6 separate regions of the Homo sapiens genome follow, and regions 1, 2, 3, 4 and 6 are each linked to region 5. Evidence: promoter capture Hi-C in human tissues and cell types (Jung and others, 2019). All regions are on one chromosome and are shown on one strand. The core of a region is centred on a gene start or on the middle of the fragment in contact, and the rest is flanking DNA. Distances in the headings are between cores, read along the strand shown. Region 1 has its middle 24 kb from the start of FERMT1. Region 2 has its middle 11 kb from the start of LINC01751. Region 3 holds the start of FERMT1 (FERM domain containing kindlin 1). Region 4 has its middle 40 kb from the start of FERMT1. Region 5 holds the start of BMP2 (bone morphogenetic protein 2). Region 6 has its middle 15 kb from the start of MIR8062.

What was found. Contacts are between HindIII fragments. The study calls those that stand out against the background at their distance.
Region 1: a contact is called between a fragment that was not itself captured here and the fragment with the promoter of BMP2 in region 5, in 1 of the 25 tissues and cell types used here (dorsolateral prefrontal cortex).
Region 2: a contact is called between a fragment that was not itself captured here and the fragment with the promoter of BMP2 in region 5, in 1 of the 25 tissues and cell types used here (dorsolateral prefrontal cortex).
Region 3: a contact is called between the fragment with the promoter of FERMT1 here and the fragment with the promoter of BMP2 in region 5, in 2 of the 25 tissues and cell types used here (IMR-90 fibroblasts and heart right ventricle).
Region 4: a contact is called between a fragment that was not itself captured here and the fragment with the promoter of BMP2 in region 5, in 2 of the 25 tissues and cell types used here (dorsolateral prefrontal cortex and hippocampus).
Region 6: a fragment that was not itself captured here is called in contact with the fragment with the promoter of BMP2 in region 5 in 1 of the 25 tissues and cell types used here (dorsolateral prefrontal cortex).

The regions. Positions count from the first base shown.
Region 1 is chr20:6,144,706-6,148,656 of GRCh38, forward strand. No RefSeq gene overlaps it. Among named protein-coding and RNA genes, the nearest start is that of FERMT1, 24 kb to the left of the region's middle. The HindIII fragment of the contact is 5,496 bases long and covers 1-3,951 here.
Region 2 is chr20:7,294,367-7,298,435 of GRCh38, forward strand. No RefSeq gene overlaps it. Among named protein-coding and RNA genes, the nearest start is that of LINC01751, 11 kb to the right of the region's middle. The HindIII fragment of the contact is 7,428 bases long and covers 1-4,069 here.
Region 3 is chr20:6,121,102-6,125,075 of GRCh38, forward strand. It overlaps FERMT1 (FERM domain containing kindlin 1), which reads right to left and starts at 1,929. Exons shown (of 15, transcript NM_017671.5): 1 at 1,673-1,929. RefSeq lists a silencer at 1,815-1,934. The HindIII fragment of the contact is 15,378 bases long and covers 1-3,974 here.
Region 4 is chr20:6,161,153-6,165,040 of GRCh38, forward strand. No RefSeq gene overlaps it. Among named protein-coding and RNA genes, the nearest start is that of FERMT1, 40 kb to the left of the region's middle. The HindIII fragment of the contact is 6,503 bases long and covers 1-3,888 here.
Region 5 is chr20:6,765,098-6,769,281 of GRCh38, forward strand. BMP2 (bone morphogenetic protein 2) reads left to right here and starts at 2,589. Exons shown (of 3, transcript NM_001200.4): 1 at 2,589-3,778. It overlaps LOC105372517 (a long non-coding RNA gene), which reads right to left and starts at 2,387. Exons shown (of 4, transcript XR_937229.2): 1 at 2,224-2,387; 2 at 1,303-1,708; 3 at 755-911; 4 at 496-572. RefSeq lists promoters at 1-3,643, 2,453-3,094, 2,484-3,643, cis regulatory regions at 1,557-2,347, 2,354-2,453, 3,094-3,268 and silencers at 2,533-2,582, 2,673-2,722. The HindIII fragment of the contact is 20,905 bases long and covers 1-4,184 here.
Region 6 is chr20:7,383,943-7,388,298 of GRCh38, forward strand. No RefSeq gene overlaps it. Among named protein-coding and RNA genes, the nearest start is that of MIR8062, 15 kb to the left of the region's middle. The HindIII fragment of the contact is 3,332 bases long and covers 772-4,103 here.

The DNA.
Region 1 (3,951 bases), core at 136-2,635, 620 kb before region 5:
GATAGTTTCCTTTGATGTGCAGAAACTGTTTAGTTTAATTAGATCCCATTTGTCAATTTTTGCTTTGTTACAATAGCTTTTGGTGACTTCATCATGAAATCTTTGCCCATTCCTATGTCCTGAATGGTATTACCTAGGTCATCTTCCAGAGTTTTTATACTTTTGGGTTTTACATTTAAGTCTTTAATGCATCTTGACTTAATTTTTGTATATGTTGTAAGGAAGGTGTCCAGTTTCAGTTTTCTGCATATGGCTAGCTAGTTGCAGCACCATTTATTAAATAGGGAGTCCTTTCCCCATTGCTTGTTTTTGTCAGGGTTCTCAAAGATCAGATAGTTGTAGGTGTGTAGGCTTATTTCTGGGTTCTCTATTCTGTTCCATTGGTCTATGTGTCTGTTTTTGTACTAGTATCATGGTGCTTTGGTTACCGTCACCCTGTAGTGTAATTTGAAGTTGGGTAACGTGATGCCTCCAGCTTAGTTCTTTTTATTGCAGACAATCTTGAACATTTTATTGCAGACAATCTTGAATCTGTACATTCATCTCCACTTTGAAATTAAGGTAGTTACCAGTTCAATTATAGATCTTCTAGTATGTTAAAAAAGATGCACATGTATTACTACATCACACATTTGTTTTTAAAGTATTTTAATAACTGCATTAAAGTATTTTAGTAACTGTATTCAGTGGAATTAGTTTCATTTGGAGTCATATGTCTGTGATTTTATGCACTTGAAAGTGTTATCCTGAAAAAGGGTCCACAGGCTTCACCAAACTGACTGCAGGCAGAATAATGGCTACCCAAAGATGTCCCTGTCCTAATCCCAAGAAACCGTGAAATGTTAATGTTATGTCGCAAGGAGGAATTAGGGTTGCAGATAGAACTAAGGTGGCTAATTAGCTGACCTTAAGATGGAGAGATTAATCCTGGAGCATCAAAGTGTGACCAGTGTCACCACAAGGGTCTTTATAAGTGAAAGAGGGAGGCAAGAGAGTTGGGGTCAGAGTCAGAGAAGATGATGTGGTGATGGAAACAGAGATGGGAATAAAGTGATTGCTGGCTTTGAAGACAGAAGGCGGCCATAAGCCAGGGAGTGTGGCAGCCTCTGGAAGCTGGAAAAGGCAAGGAAACACCTGCTGATGCCTTGATTTTGGCCCCACAAGACTTGTTTGGACTTCTAGCCTCCAGAACTGCAAGATAGTAAATCTGTGTTGTTCTAAGCCATTGAATTTGTGATCATTTGTTATAGCAGCCATAGGAAACCCATGCATCAACAAAGAAGTCAGTGGCACAAAACAGTTAGAAACCCCCTGTGTTGAGCCTAAAGATCAGAGAAGAATAGTTCCATGTGTGGTGGAGGTAGGGGAGGCGGTGAATTAAGGATTTGCCTATTGCTGCATGACAAACTCCTCCAACATAGCAGCTCAGTAAACATTTATTATCTTATAGTTTCTGTGGGTCAGGAATTTTGGACTGGCTTTGCTGGCTGGCTGTGGTTCTGGGTGTCTCATGATGTTATAGTCACATTGTCAGCTGGGGCTGCCATTGTTGGAAGGCTGGACCAGGGCTGAAGAATCTACTTCCAAGTTGGCACACTCACATGGCTATGGGCAGGAGGCTTCTCGTCCATATTGGTGTTTGGCAGGAGGCCTTATTTCCTCATTACACGGGCCTCTTCTCAGGGTGGCTTGAGTGTCCTCACAACATGGCTTCCGGTTTCCTCCACCTCTTAAAGGAAGTAGTATTAAAGAAGCTATGGACATATTTTAAAACTACTACACCATTTCCCTGTCTGTTTGCTCCTTTAAAAAAATTTCTGTGAGCAAATTGATACCAGGAGAAGAAACCAAGATCATTTGGATACAGAATGCAAATGATCGACAAGACTTATATCTAGAAATTTTCATTTTTATTTAATCTACTTAAAGCCTTAATTAAATAAAATTACTTAATAGTAATTGAAGTCTTAAAGCAAAGAAATAAAATTCTTCTTTGTGGAAATTCTGTCTTTACCCACTTGGCCTGGAACAGTTTTATTAAAAATAAACTTTTAATTTCAGAATATTTCATAGTTTCAGGTTAACAGAAAAGTTGCCAAGATAGTATAGAGAGATCTTGTATACTTCACACTTAGGTTCCCCTCATGTTAATGTCTTACATTACTATGGTACATTTGTGACAACGAGTGGACCAATATTGATATACTACTATTGACTAAAGTTTATACTTTATTTGGATTTCATTAATTTTTTTTTTTTTTCTCTAGACAGAGTCTTGCTCTGTCACCTGGGCTGGAGTGCAGTGGCATGATTTCAGCTCACTGCAACCTCTGCCTCCTGGGTTCAAGTGATTCTCCTCTCTTAGCCTCCCAAGTAGCTGGAATTACAGGCATGCACCACCAAGCCCAGCTAATTTTTGTATTTTTAGTAGAGATGGGGTTTCACCATGTTGAACTCCTAGCCTCAAGTGATCTGCCCACCTCTGCCTCCCAAAGTGTTGGGATTACCGACGTGAGCCACTGCACCTGGCCAGACTTCCTTAATTTTTACCCAATGTCAGAATAGTGCATTTTTAGAGTGGAGTTTTCTCCAGGTATCTCTGATATCTTAACAGTATCAGGGCTTTTTGAAAAAGCAACAAAACCAAGATGTGCTGTGGCATAGAGGACAACAAACTCTGGGTAGATTTGAATTTGAATCTTGCCTGTCATTGCCAGCTGCAGGTCCCTAATCAAGTTACTTCTCCTTCCTCACCTCAGTTTCCTCATCTGTAAAATGGAACTGAGGATACACGATGGGAAGACCAACAAATCTTTACAACAAAACTTCACAACAAATTTGTTGTGAAGATCAAACAAATTCATGAGTGTGAATCAGCTTGGATAATTTTTGACACATTAGCCGGTTGGGGATAGCTATTACTGTGTGGAACTCAGGGTTTGCTGAGATAATCTGGCCCAGAACAAGATCCTTCCTATACAATGTGGAAAGTGCAGAGTCCCCATCTGGGCCTGGGGATAATGAATAAGGAAGGCCTCCTGCAGAGGTAGCATGAATTGTATCTAGAAGAATGGGTGAGAGTTCGGTGGAGGAAGGGGCCCATGCAATGGGAAGAAGATATCTGGGAAGAGGGACCTGCCTGGCAGAGGCGATGGTGTGAAACAGCCTGGTAGCTTTGGAGCAGGCAGCTCAGTGGTGTGTGGTGGTTGTGATTTCTTTCTAACTCAGATGAGGTCTGTCTCTCTGGAGAGTGGTTATAAACTCTAGCACTGCCCTGACAGGGATCCTGGGGAGGTGGTTGTGGATGTTTAAAGTGTGCCTTTCACAGGATAATTCATCCTAGTGGATGGCCTGGTACCTCCGTGCCCAGTCGTGACCAGGTGTCCCTCTTACCTTGCTTATCCTGGCGGTATCTTGTGGCTGTTGTCTGACCTGTGTCCAGTTTATTTCCACCAAGACGCCGCACTCTAGGAGAGCTCTAGCTGGGAGGAGAATTCTGTTTGGGTGTGCCAGTCCTGTGAGACACAGGGCAGCACAGCACAACATATGCTCTAACAGAAGACATGTTTACTACTTACAGACGCCAGAGAGGAGGGCAGCAGGCCTCTCCAGGCCAATGGGAAGGGGAGCCAGCTGGGAACCACACCCTCAACCAGAGGGTGGGGAGCGGGCGAGGGAGAGGAATCTGAGGGCTGAAGCTTTTGTTGGGATCCAGGGCATTACCCAGGCAGGTTTCCCATGGGGAATTCTAATTGGTGGGTTTAGAGCAAGCAGGCATGATTTAGGCGGGGTCACCCTGCAGCTGAGAGGTGGTCACTGTGGTCATAAGCACGCGCTGTGGGGTCTTTGGGAAGAGTCAATTGGGTGGTATCCTGCTGTCCCCCAGGGAAGTGCTCACCAGGAGGTGGTTGCATAAGGCAGATATCTGGATCAACTGTACTGAGGAAGTGG
Region 2 (4,069 bases), core at 52-2,551, 530 kb after region 5:
CCCAGGAAGTTCCCTAAGAGCAATCTTCTGATGTTTTTCACCATAGATTTATTTTAGAATTTTATATAAATGAAGCTTATTGTACTCAACATAAGATTTCCAAGACTCAGACAATAATATAGACAGTGGTGCTTTCAAGTCTGCAGCAGTTTTGTTCCTTTTCTGGAGTCTGCCCTTTCAGAAGAGCTCATTGCTCCTCCCCTTAGTTCTTCTTGCTCCTCTTCCTACCCCCTGCTCAGTTTGTATCTCCTTTCTTTTTTTCTAATAAATACAGTTTCTTTTAAAGTTCTAGATGTTGTCATTGCTCTTACTTTGAATTTCTATAAGGGCTTGTAAAGCATTAGGATGCTCACACATCAGGAGGAACAACGTTTTATTCTTTACCATTGAACTAGTAATACTAGTTTTTCCTTTTAGGATGACTTCATTGAGTATATATTAAAAATAATGGAAAAATAGCAAAAAGGAAAGAACATATGTGATGAATCCGTGACCTCATGATATCTTATTGAGGCTGGGAGCATTTGAGGTCTGAGATTTTCTGGTATGCTCAAGGCCAGAGCAGCAACATGCATCCTTTCAAAATAAGGCAAGTTGTCACTTGTCTCTGGCCAGAATTGGTCAAGATCATGGGGTAGGTGATGAATGCTGCCGACGTCCCATGACACAGCTATTGATATGTGGCAAGGAGCCACTCATCTCTACTAAGAGATGGCATGTACCAGAGAGGGGCTGTGGGAGTAGATGACTGTCCACCAAGTAGTGTGTAATTCAAGGGATGTCTCAATGTCAAGAAGTTACCTTTGACGTCACAGATTGGCCAATGCCTTCATGTTATAGCAGACCATCATATTAGGAAAAGTCAGTCTTTCTAGATTGAATAAGGACAAGTCCAGGGTAAGCGACTACTCTAGAAACCTAACCTGTAATCTGAAGAAATGAAAAGTAAAATGTCCAGCAATAATACTTCGGGGGCCTTAAACCTCATATTTTCTTGAGCATCTTGTTTCCTGTTTAATTGTCACAGCTCAAATATTATGTTTTGCAAATGTATGTGGGGTGTATTTTATATGTTATACATATTAATTTATTTTCATTTATTCTGCTTGAAAATTTTTACATAAAATTAAAGTCTGTCATAATACTTTATCTTCTGTTTGTGGTTAGAGTAGGTGTCTTTACTTTCTTTATGATCTCTTTGTTCAGGTAAGAAGGGCTATACTGGAGTGAAATCATAACTTTAGTTACATCGTAACATTAGAAACGGGCACACTCTTGTAAACAACTGCAACAAATGGAGATTATGCTTACAGCATAAACCTCAGACTTGTGGGTATTTTCTTCTTTATGTTTTAATAAAAATACCGGAAAGGAAAGGTTTAAACTCACTAGAGTTATTTTGAGAAAATCGATTTCCATAAATATATTTTATTGCTCACTCATAAATTTATACTTCCCTTTCTCTCACTGCATAATTGGTTGGTTTCCTGCATACAGTTTAGCTCCATCGTTCATGTTTTGATAGGAATTTTATCCCTGGTATTTGTCTGTTCCAGCCATTCTTTCTTTCTTTTTTTAATTCATGAAGCCTTTTTAAAAATTATTTAATTTTATTTTTATTTTAAGTTCTGGAGTACATGTGCAGGATGTGCAGGTTTGTTACATAGGTAAAAGTGTGCCATGGTGGTTTCCTGCACCTACCAACCCATCACCTAGGTATTAAGACCAGCGTGCATTAGCTATTTTTCCTAATGCTTTCCCTCCCCATGCCCTCACCCCCCACAACAGGCCCCAGTGTGTGTTGTTCCCCTCCCCGTGTCCATGTGTTCTCATTGTTCAGCTCCCACTTACAAGGGAGAACATGTGGTGTTTGGTTTTCTGTTCTTGCATTAGTTTGCTGAGGATAATGGCTTCTAGTTCCATCCATGTCCCTGCAAAGACATGATCTCTTCCTTTTTATGGATGCATAGTATTCTATGGTGTATATGTACTATATTTTCTTTATCCAGTCTATCCTCGATGGGCATTTGGGTTGATTCCATGTCTTTGTTATTGTGAATAGTGCTGCGATGAACATACACATGCATGTATCTTTATAATGGAATGATTTATATTCCTTTGGATATATTCCCAGTAATGGACTTGCTGGGTCAAATGGTATTTCTGGTTCTAGAACTTTGATGAATTGCCACACTGACTTCCACAATGGTTGAACTAATTTACATTTTATATTTACTATTCTAATTTACTATTTTCTAATTTACTATTTCTCTACAACCTCACCAGCATTTCTGGTTTCTTGACTTTTAATAATTGCCATTCTGACTGGCATGAAACGGTATCTCATTGTGGTTTTGATTTGCATTTCTCTCACCATCAGTGAAATTGAGCTTTTTTTCGTATGTTTATTGGCCTCATGAATGTCTTCTTTTGAGAAGAGTCTTTTCATGTCCTTTCCCCACATTTTAATGGTTTTTTTTTCTTGTAAATTTGTGTAAGTTCATTGTAGATTCTGGATATTAGACCTTTGTCAGATGGATAGATTGCAAAAACTTTCTCCCACTCTGTAGGTTGTCTATTTGCTCTGACGATAGTTTCTTTTGCTGTGCAGAAGCGCTTTCATTTAGTTAGATCTCATTTGTCAATTTTTGCTTTTGTTGCAATTGCTTTTGGTGATTTCATCATGAAATCTTTGCTTGTGCCTATGTCCTGAATAGTATTACCTACATTTTCTTCTAGGCTTTTTACAGTTAGTGTTTTACATTTAAGTCTTGAATCTAACTTGAGATAATTTTTGTATAAGGTGTAAGGAAGAGGTCCAGTTTCAATTTCTTGCATATGGCCAGCCAGTTCTTCCAGCACCGTTTATTAAATAGGAAATCCTTTTCCCATTGCTTGCTTTTGTTAGGTTTGTTGAAGATCAGATGGTTGTAGATGTGCAGTCTTATTTCTTAGTTCTCTATTCTGTTCCATTGGTCTATGTATCTGTTTTTGTACCAGTAGCATTGGTCAGCCATTATTTTAGTAAAAAGCTGAAGCTCTTCACTACCTGAAGAATAAAATCCAAAATTCTTAGTATGGCATTCAAGGCTTTCCAGAAGCTGGCACGAAACTGTTTTTCTAATTTTTCTTCTGCTCCAGTATTTCTTCCCAGTTTCCTTCCACTTCTTTCACAGTTCCCATCATTCTTGCATTCTTTGTTGTCTCTGTGTACAATAGCTTTTTTTTTGGTACAATTTTATAACACTATAGTTAGGGGAGTGTATATCCACCTACTTATGTTACTGGTGGCTTCTGTGTCAGGAAATAATCTATAACCTACCTACTTATTCTTTTGATGTAGATGACCTACCCATTCACCTTTTTAAAGAATGTTTGTAAATTGTGGGAAAATATACATCATATAAATTTTGCCATCTTAACCATTTTTAAGCATTACAGTATAGTGCCATTAAGTACATTTACACTGTTGTTCAATCATCACTACCATTCATCTCTAAAATACTTTTGTCATTCCATAATGAAACTCTGAACCTAGAAAACAATAACTTCCCATTCTCCCCTTCTCCCAGGCCCTAGCAAATTCTACTTCCTGTCTTTACGAATTTAACTACTCTAGGTACTTCACATACGTGGAATCATACAGTATCTGATATTTCACTTAGCATAGTGTCTTCAAGTTTCATCCATGTTGTAGCATGTATCAGAATTTCATTACTTTTTAAGGTTGCATAATATTTCCTTGTGTGCACAAAGCACAGTTTGTTTAATCATTCATCCATTGGGGGAAATTTGAGCAGTTTTCATCTTTTGGCTATTAGGAATAATGTTGCTATGAACATTGGCATACAAATGTCTATTGAAGTCCTGGCTTTCAAATTTTTTGTATGTGAGTAGAATTTTAGAATCAAATTATACTTCTACATTTAATTTTTTGAAAATCATAATTTTATAAAATCATACTGTTTATCATAATGGCTGTCTGAACTAGGTAACATTTCAGCCAACAATGCACAAGGCTTCCGATTTATTCACATTCACGCCAACACTAATTGTTTTTCTTTTCCAG
Region 3 (3,974 bases), core at 679-3,178, 640 kb before region 5:
AGTAGCTCCTTATGTTTTTGTTTTGTTTTTGTTTTTTTTGAGATGGAGTCTTGCTCTGTCACCCAGGCTGGAGTGCAGTGGCATGATCTTAGCTCACTGCAACCTCTGCCTCCCGGGTTCAAGCAATTCTCTGCCTCAGCCTCCCAAGTAGCTGAGATTACAGGCGTGTGCCACCACGCCCGGTTAATTTTTGTATTTTTAGTAGAGACAGGGTTTCACCATGCTGGCCAGGCTGGTCTTGAACTCCTGATCTCGTGATCCACCTGCCTTGGCCTCCCAAAGTGCTGGCATTACAGGCGTGGGCCACCACGCCCAGCCGTTCCTTATGTTTCTATAGTCAGAAGCATGCAACGATGCAATGCATCTCCTCCCCATGCACAGAGATCCACACAGAACCCTCTGCATGAGGAGTGCCACTCAGTGACTGCATTAGGCCTAACTGCTTGCCTCTGTCATCATCAGCTTCAGGTATCATTTATTACCTACTGACTGTATGATGTGCTCTGTGTTAACTCCTGTCTTCTGTTATCCCTTTTTCATCCTCTCAGCAATCTCATTTAGAAATGAGGAAACTCAGCCTCAGAGAGATGAAGCAAGTTGCCTGAGGTCACACAGCAAGTTAGATGCTGGAGCCCAGGTGGAAATCCAGGTCTGCCTTTCTATTTCAAACTCTTATTCACCACACTGGGAAACCACTTTGATAATGTTGCAATGCCAAAATGAAAGAAAACTCCTCAAACTACGTGAACTAAATTCTCAGTAGCCTTTACTAAGCATTTCTATCAACACAAATCTTGCGCAGTGAGGAGACAAAAGATGCCCCTTCATCGTCAAACTCATAACTTGGCATTGAACTGTTCGACTTTAAGATCCTTACAATTTCTTAAATGCTATAATTGTGAAGTCTAGTTATTTAAAATGTTTTGTATATAAAGAAAATAACTTTTAAAGGTGATTCCTTACTGCTTATTTCACTGGGCAATCTGATATAAGGTCTTTTCCTAACTTGGGTGATCAAAACACTACTCATTCAGGCAATAGATGCTGATTCCCCTTACAACAAAATGCAGGCTAAAATTAGCCAAGCTGGTTTTCCTGCATTCCTTTCCTATCTTTCTGTGCCTTCATTTTTGAGTGAACGTCTAGTCTGCAGCAAGCTGTTACTTGTCAAGGATAGCAGCAAACTTCAGCCGGGAAAACGCATCTAAGGAGACCAAAACAAGAAGCAAAGTTACTGGCAGAGTGCTGAAAAGCCCTTCGCAGACAGTCAAAGAAACGAAAGCATGGAGGGATGGAGAGCAGGAAGGAGGAAAGATGAGGGGGAAACAGTCCCCGACCCTTCCCCTGGAATATCTGAAGGTGCTTGGTGTTCGAAGGCCACCCGACCTGTCTTTTGCCAGCTCTGCAGGATCCTGGGGCGGATGTTGGGTGGATAAAGCATGCCCCTTACTCCCATTAAGGCAGCACCTGCGGCTGAACTGAAAGTTTATTTTGCGGCCAGATGCGTAGGGCCGGAGAAGGTGGTCACATCCAGACGAAATTATTTTCAATCAACAGCTATTTAAGTACAAGAGGCTGCAGAAAGAAAGGGGCTAAGGGGGCTCAGGAGCCACTGGTGCCCATGAAAGCCTCCCAACCTCTAGCTCCCCAGCCCTAGCTCCGGAGCACCCACCTCCTTTCCAGGAGCCCGTAGCGTCCAGCCTCGCAGTCGCGCACGTGGAGAGCTGCGTCCCTACAAACTACCCCGGGCCGAGCCGAGGAGCGGGCGCTGGCGAAGTGGGGAGCGGGGGGCGCCCAGTGGCGGCGGCTGCTCAGCTAAGGCTGCGGCAGGTGAGGGCTGGAGCCAGGGCGAGCAGGCGAAGCTGCCTCGGGACCTCCCACGGAGGCTCGGTGCCTGCCCCCAGCCTGGCGCGGCGTGCCCGGTGCACTGCACGGCCCCAGCGGCCCGGCTGAGGGCAGCGCGCAGCGTGGCAGGCGAGGGCACGCCCAGCCCCGGGCCTGCTAGGTCTCGCTCCCGCGGAGAGGAGGCGCAGTCTGCAGATTTTTAAGGGCAAAGGGTGGCCGAAGGGCTGCTCGGCGGAGAGAAGGCGGCGAGAACCCGGGGCGCACGCTCAGTATCTGCAGCTCCTCTTGCGATGTCTCATCCTGACGCTTTAAGGCCGCCTCCAGTTTCCCTGTTCCCCCAGGCCCGCCGGGGACTAGCCCAGATGATTAAAGCCGCGCCACTTCCCCTCCTTTCAGGCATACCCATCACTCACACCCCGGGGTGCGTCCAGGCCCAGGAGACTCCAGCCTCCCGCCTAGAACAGCTGCCTCCCTCAGAAAGAGCCCCGGAGCACTTGTGGTCAGGGAGGTGAAGGCAACGACAAAACGATTCGTCTCTGAGTAAGAGGGTGGTGTCAGTCTCCAGAAGGCTGAGGCTCCCGACCAGGGGAGACTCCAGGAGACCCAAGGGCAGGCTGCATGCGGAAGTCTGGGCCACACCTGGTATGGCTCACCTCAGGATCACCACCGGTCCCGCCAGTCGCCTTCCTGTTGGATTTATTTTCAAAGAGGGCTGGGGCCACCCAGGAAGGGTGGGTGACCTGGGCAGTTTACACAACCTCTCCAAGCCTCCTTTGTTCATTTAATCACATTTGTTGAGTGCTTACTGCTCTACAGGCCTCCCAATGGGCCTGGGCTCAGAGAATACAGTGGTTAATAAAACAGACATGGAAATGACAGTTTCCTCATCTGTGAAATAGGTACAGAGATAGAATGCGTGCTCTTCCACGGAGGGATTTCATGCAATATAGTACAGGCTTTAGCGATTTGCATTAAAAGGCTTGTGAACACTTAAATTTTAATAAAGAAGTTATAAAATTTAGAAGTTGAATCTGTTTTCGCTTAAACATTACCATATTCAGGAATTATTATGGGTTTGAAAGTACATTTAATTTAAAAAGGTTAGTTGAACATTGTTGGCAAATATAGGATATTATAATTGAAATAAAATCATTAAAAACTTGAAACAGAATGTCTTCACTTGGTAGCGTTTGTCAACGATGGGAAGGGTCATCTGGTCCCACTTCCCTACCTCTTAACATCATGAAACCCTGCTTATGGCCCATTAGAACTTAGACTGTGGTCAGTGCGCGCGCGCGCGCGCGCACAAACACACACACACACACACACACACACACACACACACATATATTTTTTTGAGATGGAGTCTTGTTCTGTCCCCAGGCAGGAGTGCAGTGGCACGATCTTGGCTCACTGCTGCACCCTCCGCCTCCCGGGTTCAAGTGATTCTCCTGCCTCAGTCTCCCGAGCAGCTGGGACTACAATTTTTGTATTTTTAGTAGAGACCAGGTTTCATGATGTTGGCCAGGATGGTCTTGATCTCTTGACCTTGTGATCTACCTGCCTCGGCCTCCCAAAGTGTTAAGATTACAGGTGTGATCCACCGTGCCCAGCCTGTGGTCAAGATTTTATGTGTGACCTTGAATTATGGCTCTATCTATTCATACCAATATGGTTTTTCTCTTTTCAATTGAAAATATCTGCATTGTGCTAAAGAATTCGACTGGTTTTAAGCGTTCTTCTTGGCCTAGGTTAATTTTTAAACTTGTAATTTTATGTAGTGACTTGTGTGTATATAAATGTGTATCATATATATACACACCCATACATATACACAATATATATAGATAAGAGCACAAATCGTGAATGTATAGCTGATGAGTTTTCGCAAACTGAACACACCTGTATACAGAGTATATAAAGACACTAGCGTATAAAGAGTGCCCAGTTGAAGAAACAGGACATCACCAGTCCTCGGAAGCCCGTTAGTGACCCCTTTTAGTTATTCCTTTCAGTTATGATCACTGCCGCTGCCTGCCCCTACCCCCGACCCCAGGCCCAGGATAACCATTATCTTATCTTCTAACTCCTCAGAAGGGTTTTGCCTGTCTTTGTACTTTATATAAATG
Region 4 (3,888 bases), core at 1,099-3,598, 600 kb before region 5:
TTTGTTCCTGGAGAGTAGGTGCTTGTTATGCAGAAGGCTCTGAGTATATTTCTCCATCACTCAGAGCCATCACTCAGGGTCTCTTTCCCCCACCCCTAACCAGGACCACAAAAAGATCTTCCTCAGGTTCTCAAAAGGAGAACATGGTAGGGTTCCTGGAGGGCAAGTTCATGAAAGTGTGAGGCCTATCATGGGTGCAGCCCCAGAAGTTTCTCTCCCCTTGTGCTAGTCTACACTGTCTTCAGCAATTCATCCAAATTACCATTTAAATGTTCCCCTTAGTTTCTGCCTCCAGCGACTTCTGCTTCAGGTAAATAGATCTTAGTTTCTAAGATTTTAGTTTCAGAGATCTGTATTTCTCTGGATACATCAGTCTCTTCATATTTTGAGGTTTTCTCTGTGACCTGTATTCTGATGGGTCCAAGAAAAGCCTTGATTTGTACTTTGTCCAGCTTTGACTTATAAAGGAGGAAATGATGTATTCTAAACTCTTTACACATCAGGGCTGAAACTGGAGCCACATTTAGGTTTGTGAAGCACATCAGGGTAGATGTTTATGTCCTAGAATGAGGGTGGTCTAGTGGATCGCATGGGCATGACGTTAGAAGATTTAGATCTGGCTTGAGGGAACTGTCACTGACTCAGGAGACATCCTTATTTGTTAGATGGGAGTTGCTGAATCCAACACAGAGTGTCACGAAAGAACAAATGTGACAATGAGAAGTGTTACAAGGTCTTTCTGTCAGTGTTAAGACAGCTACACTTCACTTCCCTGGAACCAATGCCTCTGGTGTGGCAGAAAGAAGGCTTCAGCTTTCTGTGGCATTGGCTTTCTTGGCTATCCTTCCTGTCTTTTTTGACTTGCTCCCTTATCATGTAGTCAGCTCTACATTTATTAAAAAAGCAGTAGCCTGGTGCCAGGATTCTTTCAGGCTGCCTCTCTCTTTCTCTCTCTCTCTTTCTCCTTTCTTTCTTTCTTTCTTTCTTTCTTTCTTTCTTTCTTTCTTTCTTTCTTTCTTTCTTTCTTTCTTTCTTTTTCTTTCTTTCCTCTCTTTCTCTCTTTTTCTTTCTCTTACACACACACACACACACACACACACACACACACACACACTTCAGCGTTGGACTCTGGCCATCAGAAACATGCATTCTGTCAGTTTAAAAGGGAGTTGACAGGAATCATTGTGAAAACACACTTGTTCTGGAATCTGGGCTCATGGAATTTGCTCCTGCTGGACATTCCCTGGACCCGGAGTGATGCCAAAGTAAGGCAAGGCCACAAGCAGCCCCACTTTGCCTGACCTTTCCTCACTCCATGCCTGTGGGGCTTGGAGAGCAGCTGCGGAGGATTGGGTGACTTCCAAAGTCAGCTCTTGAGAGCAGGTTGCCAGGGAATTCTCTTGAACAGGGCCGTCCAAGGGATGGACACATTTCCTGGTCCTGAAGCAGAGAAATTAGAAGCAAAAATAGGCATGGAAAGATGCTCTGCCCAAAAGAAGTCCCCCCTCTCTTCCCCAGGAGTTGAATAACAGTTCTCTTTCATTTGGGTATATTTTACTTTTAAAAGCTTAATTTAGTCATTTTTAACAACAAAGTAGAATAGTTCAGAGATTTATAAAAACAGCAGCAATAACAACAAAAAACTTTGCTGCAGTGTTTGCTTTTCCTGCAGGCCCTCCTGGTGAGGCTGCTCTTTGAAGCACTTACACAGGTTCTCACAACTCTGCTTGGGCCACCTTCCCAAAAGCAATGGCCTTTTATGCCCCCAGGTGACCCATCGCCCCCACCTTCTTCATTCTCCTGATCTATGTCATTGTCCCACTTACTTCTCCTCAAGGCAGGAAAAGGGCTGTGGGATGAGCTCATTGATATCATTCAGGTGAGCAGCAGACTCCTTTGTGTCCAGGTGAGAACATGGGATGGCTCCTTCACGTGGTTTGGGAATAAGTGTAGACTCCTTTTCCACTTTTAGGGAACCCTTGCTCAGTTTCCTGGGAAGAGTTGGGATAAGAACAGATCCTAGGGATGCTGATAGAATCCATCTGCAGTTGGGGTCTTACCAGCTCAGGGCTTGTCCCAGATAAAGCCTCCGGGGAAGGAAGTGTGGTTCTTTTGCTCCCTCTGCTTTAAAGCACATGTCCTGAAAATTCCCATTGGCATCTTCTTCCTTTTCAGTCCCTTTGCCTCTCGTGGACATGAGTTGCCTGTGTGTATTTGTTTATGTGATTATTTGTTTAGGGCTTAGGGTTTGCCATTCTTTTGTGCTAGGCTCTAACAGGGGTCTTGATCACTAATCATTACTGTGTCTTTGGGGTCTAGTATACTCCCCAACACATAGTAAATTCCTGAATACCTCAGTGGCATTGTTTTAATTTAATCCTCACATAATTTAATAGAGCCTAGGAATAGCTCTACCACTATTCCCATTTTAGGGATGAAGAAATTAAGACTTTGAACAACTCACTCAAGTCCCCCAAATGAAATCTAGATCTGAGAGTTTGATTCTTAAGCCCATGTTCTCAATGGACACCGAAAAATCCTCCTACTAGGCAAGGGAGTGAGAGAGAAAATGAACACAATATATGATCATATGAGAACTCAACGGGAACAGAAAGACAAAATATACCTGAAGGACCAGGAAAAAGGAGGGCTTACAAATGTATTTCAGGCAAGAACTTTCTGGAAGACCCTTTCAAGTGGCAAGCACCTACTCTGAACCGCTTTTGGTCAGACTGCTCACGTTAATATTCATTTTGGTGAATCAGAGTTAGAAACTTTTGTCTTTTGGCAATCATTGGAATTTTGAAAAAAAAGTTCTATAAGTGGATCTAAAGATTTGATAGTTTATTTCAATGAAATTTTTTTTTGGCTAAAAATGTGGGTTAACGGTCTATTTCAAATGTATTTGACATTGCAGCCTTTAAGTGATACTTTACCAGCTAGAATTCAATTTGCTTACTTAGGGGAAGGGTAGGCACTATCATTTTTTGAGCATGCATTGTATGCCAGGCCCTTCACATTGAACCATGTTAGGACATCTTTGAAGACAGACTGTATCTCCTCCCTTGCTTGACTGTCTCCTACAGTGCTCAATAAGTGGCTGGGGTTGAGAGGTCCAGGAAAAATTCTGACTTCTACCTTTGGTAATCCCAGGCAAATCTTGTGATCTTTGCAGGGCACCATTTTCTTCTGAAATGAAGGAAGGTGGGGGAGGTAAGGTAGATGGATCTTTAAGGATTCTTCTGGGTTAAAAGTTCAGAAAGTCTGTGATTCCAGATGGGTGTTCTCGTCCTTCTTTCACAGTCCTTTCTCTTTAGGAATCATGGAAGGGCCAGAGAGGCAAAAGCACTGTTCAGCTAACACCTGCACAGCTTGGCTGACAGGTGGGCCCTGAGAATGAACAGCGTCTGTGTGTGCTGGCCAAGTGCTGAGCCTGCAGCCTGCAGCTGGCCTTCTTGGCTTCTGTCGACCCCTTGGCTGCCTGAGTCTCCGGCAACTGTTCAATCATTTGTTTTTTCCCCTCCGAAGAGACAGTCAAGGGTGCTGGGGGGCTTGTTGCTTTGGGAATTCTGCCACATTTACAAATGCCTTGTAACCCTTATTGAGTGACAGATTTATTTGACAATTTTTGATAAGTGGGTTGTTTGCGACTTGCTGACGGAGGGAATTATTTGTAATTCCAACTTGAAAGGCTGGCCATCTGAAAGCCATGACTAAGCGAGCACATGTATTAAAAGGTCATTCATAGTTGCTTAACATCTTGGCATATATCATCTTCTGATCTCTGTTTTTATTGTTTTGATCTCAAAAAGAAACTTTAAAAAATGTGAGATGTGGAAATTGGGAAGTGACAGAACTATTTATGGTCCCCATAAGCAGCTGACCTAC
Region 5 (4,184 bases), core at 1,339-3,838:
CTGAAATGGAATAGCAACAACCTCCTTTATGTGGAATCATTATCTGGTCATCTTTGCTTTTTTACATAACTTGTCTGTACCCTCTGATGCATTTGAATTTGCAACTTCTACTATCCCTATCTTAAACAACTCCCCACTCCCACCTCTGCCCCTTCCACATTTGCTGGCAGATGCACTAAGTCTGATAAACTCAGCAAGACTGAATCTCACCCTCTGAACTGAAAAACTTTGAATGGACCTTTGAAAACGGTAGAATTGACAATGGTTAGCTGCAAGTGATATTTTCAAGGCAAACAGACACTCTCCCAAAGTATTAAATAACCCAGCATTCTAAGTTGCAGGTGGAAGGTAGCCATTAGTGAAGAGAGAGAAAAAAAAAAGAAATAGCTCGTCTGTATTTAGATTTATCATTTCTGACTATTGCTCTTCCCTGGAAAACGGGTAGGTACAGTCATCCTGTACTTCGATCCCAAATCAGTCTCTGGAGACTACTTATTTATTTATTTATTTATTTATGGACTTCTTTCTTTCAAGCGTTCGAACTCATTTCCACCACAAGAGGGCAGCCATCTCTAAAAAAAAAAAAATAGGGCCAAAATTTATGTAAGTTGTGCTTGGAACAAGCATTCAGTAGTTCCTCAGAAATCATACACCCTACATAAAAGAGATTCTGCAATGGGCAGCACTAACATGAAACAGTGTTCAGAAGTACCCATTTTCCCTCAGATTCTAAACTGACAAGGTTTCCACTTACCAGGTTATGAAGTTCTAAAGCTGCAAGACATCCTTGAGGTCATCACAGGATATTTATTTATTTTTTCTTCGGGTGCATCCAATAGTTATCAACTTTTCCTCCTCTTTAAAAGCTACTTAAATCTCATTGAAGTTTTGTTTTGTTTTGTTTTTGAAATCTAAGTAATGAGAGAAACAATTGTTAACTTCTCAATTAAACTTGATAGGAAAGGAAATAATTTCAGAAGCCCTGTGTCCATGAGTAGGATATGTTTTATTGCCTCCTTGTTTGCGGTGCAATGACTCTGAGTGACAATCAACTTCTATAGCACCTTTTTTTTTTTTTTCAGGAAATAAAGTAGCATGTTCCTGAATAATTCCCCCACCCCCTTTTATTTTCCTGGTAGTCAGGCTTCCTCCAAAATACCTTATTTGACCTTTATACCTTTAGAAACAGCAAGTGCCTAATTCGCCTCTGTGGGTTGCTAATCCGATTTACGTGAGCGGAACCTAGTATTATTTTAGCTCCCCTACCGAAAAAATAATACACATGGATAATAGTTCTATTACCAGCTCCTGCTTCTGACTTTTTTCTCTCTGTTTCGCAGGCCCGATAGCTCTGGGAAAGCAGAACTTGGCCTTTTCCAAAAATTTTCTGCCCTTGGTTTTGGGGATCATTTGGGCAAGCCCGAGGTGCTGTGCATGGGGGCTCCTGGAATCCTGGGAAGGGCAGAAAGCCTTGGCCCCAGACTCATCGTGCAGCAGCTCTGAGCAGTATTTCGGCTGAGGAGTGACTTCAGTGAATATTCAGCTGAGGAGTGACTTGGCCACGTGTCACAGCCCTACTTCTTGGGGGCCTGGTGGAAGAGGGTGGCGTAGAAGGTTCCAAGGTCCCAAACTGGAATTGTCCTGTATGCTTGGTTCACACAGTGCGTTATTTTACCTTCCTCTGAGCTGCTAATCGCCTGCCTCTGAGCTGGGTGAGATAAATATCACAAGGCACAAAGTGATTGTACAATAAAAAAATCAAATCCCTCCCATCCATCCTTCAGTCTGCCACACACGCAGTCTACGTTACACACATGTCACGTAAAGCAGGATGACATCCATGTCACATACATAGACATATTAACCGAAATGTGGCCCTTCGGTTGCATATATTCTCATACATGAATATATTTATAGAAATATATGCACATATTTTTGTATATTGGATATATTTATGTAACTATAAATTTACATGCGTATGGATATGAAAATAAATGCATACACATTTATGTAAAAAAATTTGTACACATGCATTTACATATGTAAATACATACATCTCTATGTATTAATGTTTAAAAACACTCAATTTCCAGCCTGCTGTTTTCTTTTAATTTTCCTCCTATTCCGGGGAAACAGAAGCGTGGATCCCACGTCTATGCTATGCCAAAATACGCTGTAATTGAGGTGTTTTGTTTTGTTTTGTTTTTTGAAATCGTATATTACCGAAAAACTTCAAACTGAAAGTTGAATAACGGGCCCAGCGGGGAAATAAGAGGCCAGACCCTGACCCTGCATTTGTCCTGGATTTCGCCTCCAGAGTCCCCGCGAGGGTCCGGCGCGCCAGCTGATCTCTCCTTTGAGAGCAGGGAGTGGAGGCGCGAGCGCCCCCCTTGGCGGCCGCGCGCCCCCGCCCTCCGCCCCACCCCGCCGCGGCTGCCCGGGCGCGCCGTCCACACCCCTGCGCGCAGCTCCCGCCCGCTCGGGGATCCCCGGCGAGCCGCGCCGCGAAGGGGGAGGTGTTCGGCCGCGGCCGGGAGGGAGCCGGCAGGCGGCGTCCCCTTTAAAAGCCGCGAGCGCCGCGCCACGGCGCCGCCGCCGCCGTCGCCGCCGCCGGAGTCCTCGCCCCGCCGCGCTGCGCCCGGCTCGCGCTGCGCTAGTCGCTCCGCTTCCCACACCCCGCCGGGGACTGGCAGCCGCCGCCGCACATCTGCCGCCACAGCCTCCGCCGGCTACCCGAACGTTCTCGGGGCCAGCGCCGAGTGGATCACCGGGGACCGCGAGGCACCCGCGCGCCGCAGACCCCGCGCGGGCTGGAGCACCCGGCAGAGCGCGCCACAGCGCCGTGGCCTCTGCTGCCCGGGCTGCGCCAGAGCCGCGGACGGGCGCGCAGAGCGCCGGGGACTCCGGAGCCGATCCCTAGCGCCGCGATGCGGAGCACCTACTGCAGGAGATCGGGGGCCTGGGACGCGCTGGCCGAGGTGTGATCGGACCCCAGGCTAGCCACAAAGGGCACTTGGCCCCAGGGCTAGGAGAGCGAGGGGAGAGCACAGCCACCCGCCTCGGCGGCCCGGGACTCGGCTCGACTCGCCGGAGAATGCGCCCGAGGACGACGGGGCGCCAGAGCCGCGGTGCTTTCAACTGGCGAGCGCGAATGGGGGTGCACTGGAGTAAGGCAGAGTGATGCGGGGGGGCAACTCGCCTGGCACCGAGATCGCCGCCGTGCCCTTCCCTGGACCCGGCGTCGCCCAGGATGGCTGCCCCGAGCCATGGGCCGCGGCGGAGCTAGCGCGGAGCGCCCGACCCTCGACCCCCGAGTCCCGGAGCCGGCCCCGCGCGGGGCCACGCGTCCCTCGGGCGCTGGTTCCTAAGGAGGACGACAGCACCAGCTTCTCCTTTCTCCCTTCCCTTCCCTGCCCCGCACTCCTCCCCCTGCTCGCTGTTGTTGTGTGTCAGCACTTGGCTGGGGACTTCTTGAACTTGCAGGGAGAATAACTTGCGCACCCCACTTTGCGCCGGTGCCTTTGCCCCAGCGGAGCCTGCTTCGCCATCTCCGAGCCCCACCGCCCCTCCACTCCTCGGCCTTGCCCGACACTGAGACGCTGTTCCCAGCGTGAAAAGAGAGACTGCGCGGCCGGCACCCGGGAGAAGGAGGAGGCAAAGAAAAGGAACGGACATTCGGTCCTTGCGCCAGGTCCTTTGACCAGAGTTTTTCCATGTGGACGCTCTTTCAATGGACGTGTCCCCGCGTGCTTCTTAGACGGACTGCGGTCTCCTAAAGGTAGAGGACGCGGGCCAGGGCCCGGGGTGGGTGGTGGGTGGGAGGGGGATTTGGGCAGCCACTGCGGTAGAGCCCTTCCTTACGTCCAGGCCAGAAGTAAACAGACCCCTCTCCAGTCCACGTGCAACGGAGCCCTGCAGGGGCTCCCACTTCCAGCTGCCCCGGGCGACCGTAAGCCTCACCCTCCCGGCCCGCACTCTTCCACCCCTCTTTCTTCCCCTCTCCCTGGAATACTTTTGGAGCTGTTAACACTTAGATGAGGTGTTTTATTTATTTATTTATTTATTTTTAATTTTTTTAAAAACTTTTTTGGGTCAAAGAAATCCCTTTGAGAGGGTAGCCCCTGGGTTTCACCCGTTAGCTGAGAACCTGTCCGCTCTGCCATGGTGATCTCCATTCTTCAAGT
Region 6 (4,356 bases), core at 1,188-3,687, 620 kb after region 5:
GGCTGCAGAGTATTCCATGGTATATATGTACCACATTTTCTTTATTTAGCCTATCTTTGATGGGCATTTAGGGTGCTTCCATGTCTTTACTATTGTAAATAGTGCTGCAGTGAACATACATGTGCATGTGTCTTTACATTAAACTGAAAGCGACAAACCCACTTTAATATTCCAATCTCTCTAAGCCTGTGAATCCCTTACTATACGTTAAACCAAAGCAAGTATGGTATTTCTAACTTGTTCACTGTAGGTCACCTTTTGGTTCAGTTTTCAACCAACTAACCAATCAAACAAACTGTTAGAGTCCTTTCAAATTCACCCCAATCTGAAACAGTGAATGCAGATTGTCTGCTTACTGACTTCAGAGCAATAAATTCCATAAATAAAGTCCATATCAAATTCATCCTGCTACAACTTTATGTGTCTTCTATCACTATCCCACACCTTTAATATCTTTTCCACATATGTTTCTTGAATTTTTGTCAACATAAATTAGGAAACTCAAGTAATTCTTTTGGAGTATGGCACATCTCCACTTGGGTCACACTTTGTTTCTCACCTTTAAGGACCTGATCAGACATGAGTCTAATTATAGATCTAGAAGGAGAAGGGTAGTGGGATGGGACTTGAGGAAAATCAGCATTGTCTTGAATGGCAACTGCCTCTGGAGGGGCCGCTACCATTTCTCTGGAAATCAGATTAATCCTCACAGATAGAAGTGGAGATACCACTCTAACTAGGGATGAAACTCATTAGAATGTAGTGCTCCTACTTGTATTCAACATAGTTCTGGAAGTCCTAGCCAGACAAATCAGTCAAGAGAAATAAAAGCCATGTACTTTGAAAAAAAGGAAATCAAACTGTGCCTCTTTGCAGATGATGTGATCTTATACCTAGGAAAACCTAAAGACTCCATCAATAAATTCTTAGATATAATAAATAAATTTAGTAAAGAATAGAATAAAAAATCAACATGCAAAAATCAGTAGCATTTCTATCACCAAATAATGGACTAGCTGAGAAAGAAGTCAAGAAGGCAACCTCAATTACAATAGCTATAAAAATAATACAATATCTAGAAATAAATTTTACTAAGGAGGTGAAAGACCTCTATAAGAAAAACTACAAAACACTGATGAAATAAATTGGAGAAAACACAGAACTTGGAAAGGCATGCCATGCTCATGAATTGGAAGAAATAATATTGTTAAAATGACCATACTGCCCAAATAATCATCAGATTCAATGCAATTCTTATCAAAGTACCAATATCATTTTGAACATAAATAGAAAAGATAATCCAAAAATTCACATGGAACTAAAAAAAGCCCAAATAGCCAAAGGAAAAAAATCAGTATATCAAAAGGATATCTGTACCTCCATGTTTATAGTAGCACTATTCACAATAGCAAAGATATAAAATTAACTGCAGTATCTGTTAATGCATAGGCAAAGAAAAGTGGTATATATACACAATTGAATACTATTCAGCCATATAAAAAAGAATGAAATCGTGTAATTCTTAACAACAGGAATGGAACTGAGAGATCATTGTGTTAAATATCATAAGCCAGACACAGAAAGATACATTTTCCATATTCTCTCTCACTCATATGTGGAAGATGAAAAAAGTTGATCTCATGGAGGTAGAGAGTAGAATAACAGATACCAGAGACTGAGAAGGGTGTATGAGTGGGAGTCGGGGATAAGGAGAGGTTGATTAGTAGGTACAAACATACAGTTAGATAGAAGGAATAAGTTCTAATGTTCGGTTGCAGAATAGGGTGACTACAGTTAACAACCATGTATCGTATTTTTCAAAATAACTTGAAAAGAGAACTTGAAATGTTCCCAATACCTAAAAATGATAAATATTGAAGGTGACAGCTGCCCCAAATAACCTGACTTGATCATTCTACAGTCTATGCATGTGATACAATATCACATGCACCCCACAAATATGTACAAATATTATGTATCAATAAAAATAATTTTAAAAATAAATTTTAAAAAGAATTAGGTGTTCAACATCTCCAGCTCCAACAGGGTCTTATGATTTCCATTCATCTTTGTAATCTCATTCTTTTCCAATCAGTGTCCTCACTTTAACATTCCACACTCTGCAAGGCTGTGAGTTTAACTAATTTTGTTATTCATTCAGTCATAGAATGAGATTCTGGGTTGGTTTCAGTAGTCTCAGCCCTGCAGGTACAGGAAATGAGGACCTCCTTCAGGGCATAAATAGAAATTTACAGGTAATTCATGCAGAACTTGAGTTGAGAATTTGAATCCTTGTCTCATTTTGTTTTCCTACTTTGTCCTGCAACATTAGAAGCAAACAGCAAATCTCATTATATTCATTAGTTTGACAAAAATGTTCAAAAGTATCACATACATAATACCCCGGGTCCCTGTTTCTTATAAGTGGTTGATTAGGAGTATTCAATGGTGATAATTTTGCATATCTTTTTTCAAATCATGTCATATTCTATCAGTGCTGTCTTTACTATTGGAAACAGAGTCATCAGCATCTTTAAATCTAATCAGATTAAAGAGGAAATTCTAAAAACTAGAGACCCAATTTAGAAGACTCATCTTTAAAATTATGTTCCTTTAGAACCTCTCTTGGTACCAAAATCTGCATTCGGGTTTTTAGGTCTTTCAGAGAAATAGAAGCAGTTGGCAAGCTGGAGAAACAGTACAGGCAATGGTACAGTTACATTCCAAATGTTAGTATACTCAAGACCTAGAAAGATCCAACGTTTCAGTTCGATTCTGAAAGCAGGAAGAAAAATAATCAATGTTATAGATTGAAGACAGTCAAACAGGAAGAGTTCTCACTTATTCACAGGAAGGTCAGCCTTTTTGTGATATTCAGGCCTTCAACAGACTGGATGAGCACTCCCTGCCTCCCGCCGCCCCACCCCACATTAGGGAGGGCTATCTTCTTTAACTCTATCTGCCAACTCATGTGTTAAACTTATTCAGAAATGCCCTCGCAGACATACACAGAATAATATTTGATCAAATATCTGAATACCTCATGGCTCTGTCAAGTTAATACACAAAATAAAACATCACAACATCTTATATGTACTATGCATTGTACTAAGCATTAGGCACACTGATGTGGATAGAACACAGTTCCTTGTGTTCCAAAAGGTCACACTCACTGGGCAGAAACAGATATATGTATGATTCAGTATCATGAAAGTCACAAAGTTCTCCTTGAGAATACATTCTCTTTGGAGGGCTAGTGGTATGCTTCACAGAACATGCAGCATTTGAAAATGAACAATAAGGGACTTGATTGAAAATGATATTAATACCATGTGTCTTATCTTGGCTTCTCCAAGAGCAGACCCTTAGATAAGCATTCAAGTGCAAGACGTTAATTTAGAAAGTTCCAGAAACACCAATGGTAGAGTAAGGAAGTGAGACGAGGAAGATGAGGAAGCCACTGTAGAGTGAATTACTAAACTACTCTGGGCAATTGAAGCTTAATCACTGAGGGAATACAGAAAAAAGTGTTGACTATACTCCTCAAGTTTGTTGTTTCTCAGGAGTAAAGAAGTGTATTTTGTATATCAACACTCAGTCATTCATTGAGAGCTACTTCTATAGTAAGTGTTAATCTCTTGGTATTCCTGCCTTTCCATGTGCAAAGCAGAGGGGACTCTGGTGGCTAGACAAAGCTCCCAGGCAAAGAGATGCAAGGATTAATATTTGTTACTCAGATTTGCAAACTGTGAAATGGCAAAGCCTGGGGAATCGGGAAGAATTCCCAACAGCATTCCTTACAACAAAGCTGGGTATTAGGATTTTGTTCAGTAGATATTGGAGTTCCATTAAAGGTTGTTGAATGTAGGTTAAACAGAAAGTAAAAGATAGCGAAGGAAAAAATTGGCACCAGTAGCTCAGAGACAACCTGATATTTCATTTCTCTCACCTTTCACCTATGGCCATTCATTTCACTTTTTTTTTTTTCTATCTCATGAGCTTTTTTTTTTTTTTTTTTTTTTTTACCAACACTATTTGGACACTGAAACCATGATCTCACCTAGATATTTACTTTTGTTTCACAGTTGTCATTGAAAGTCCCTGTACCTAGCTGTTAGCCATTGTCCTAACATGTTTAACTGTGAACTTCAGCAAGGCCCACATTTTAAATTTCAAGTCTTGTCTGGAACCATATTAGGACCTTTATAATTTGAGTTCATACTTCCTTTCTTTTGCCACACTAGCCACACGAAATAACCTTACATAACCCCTCCATTCCAGCCACACTAATCTTCTCTTCATTTTTCTTACTGTATATCCATTCATGCCATAGTGACTTTGTACATATTCTTCTCT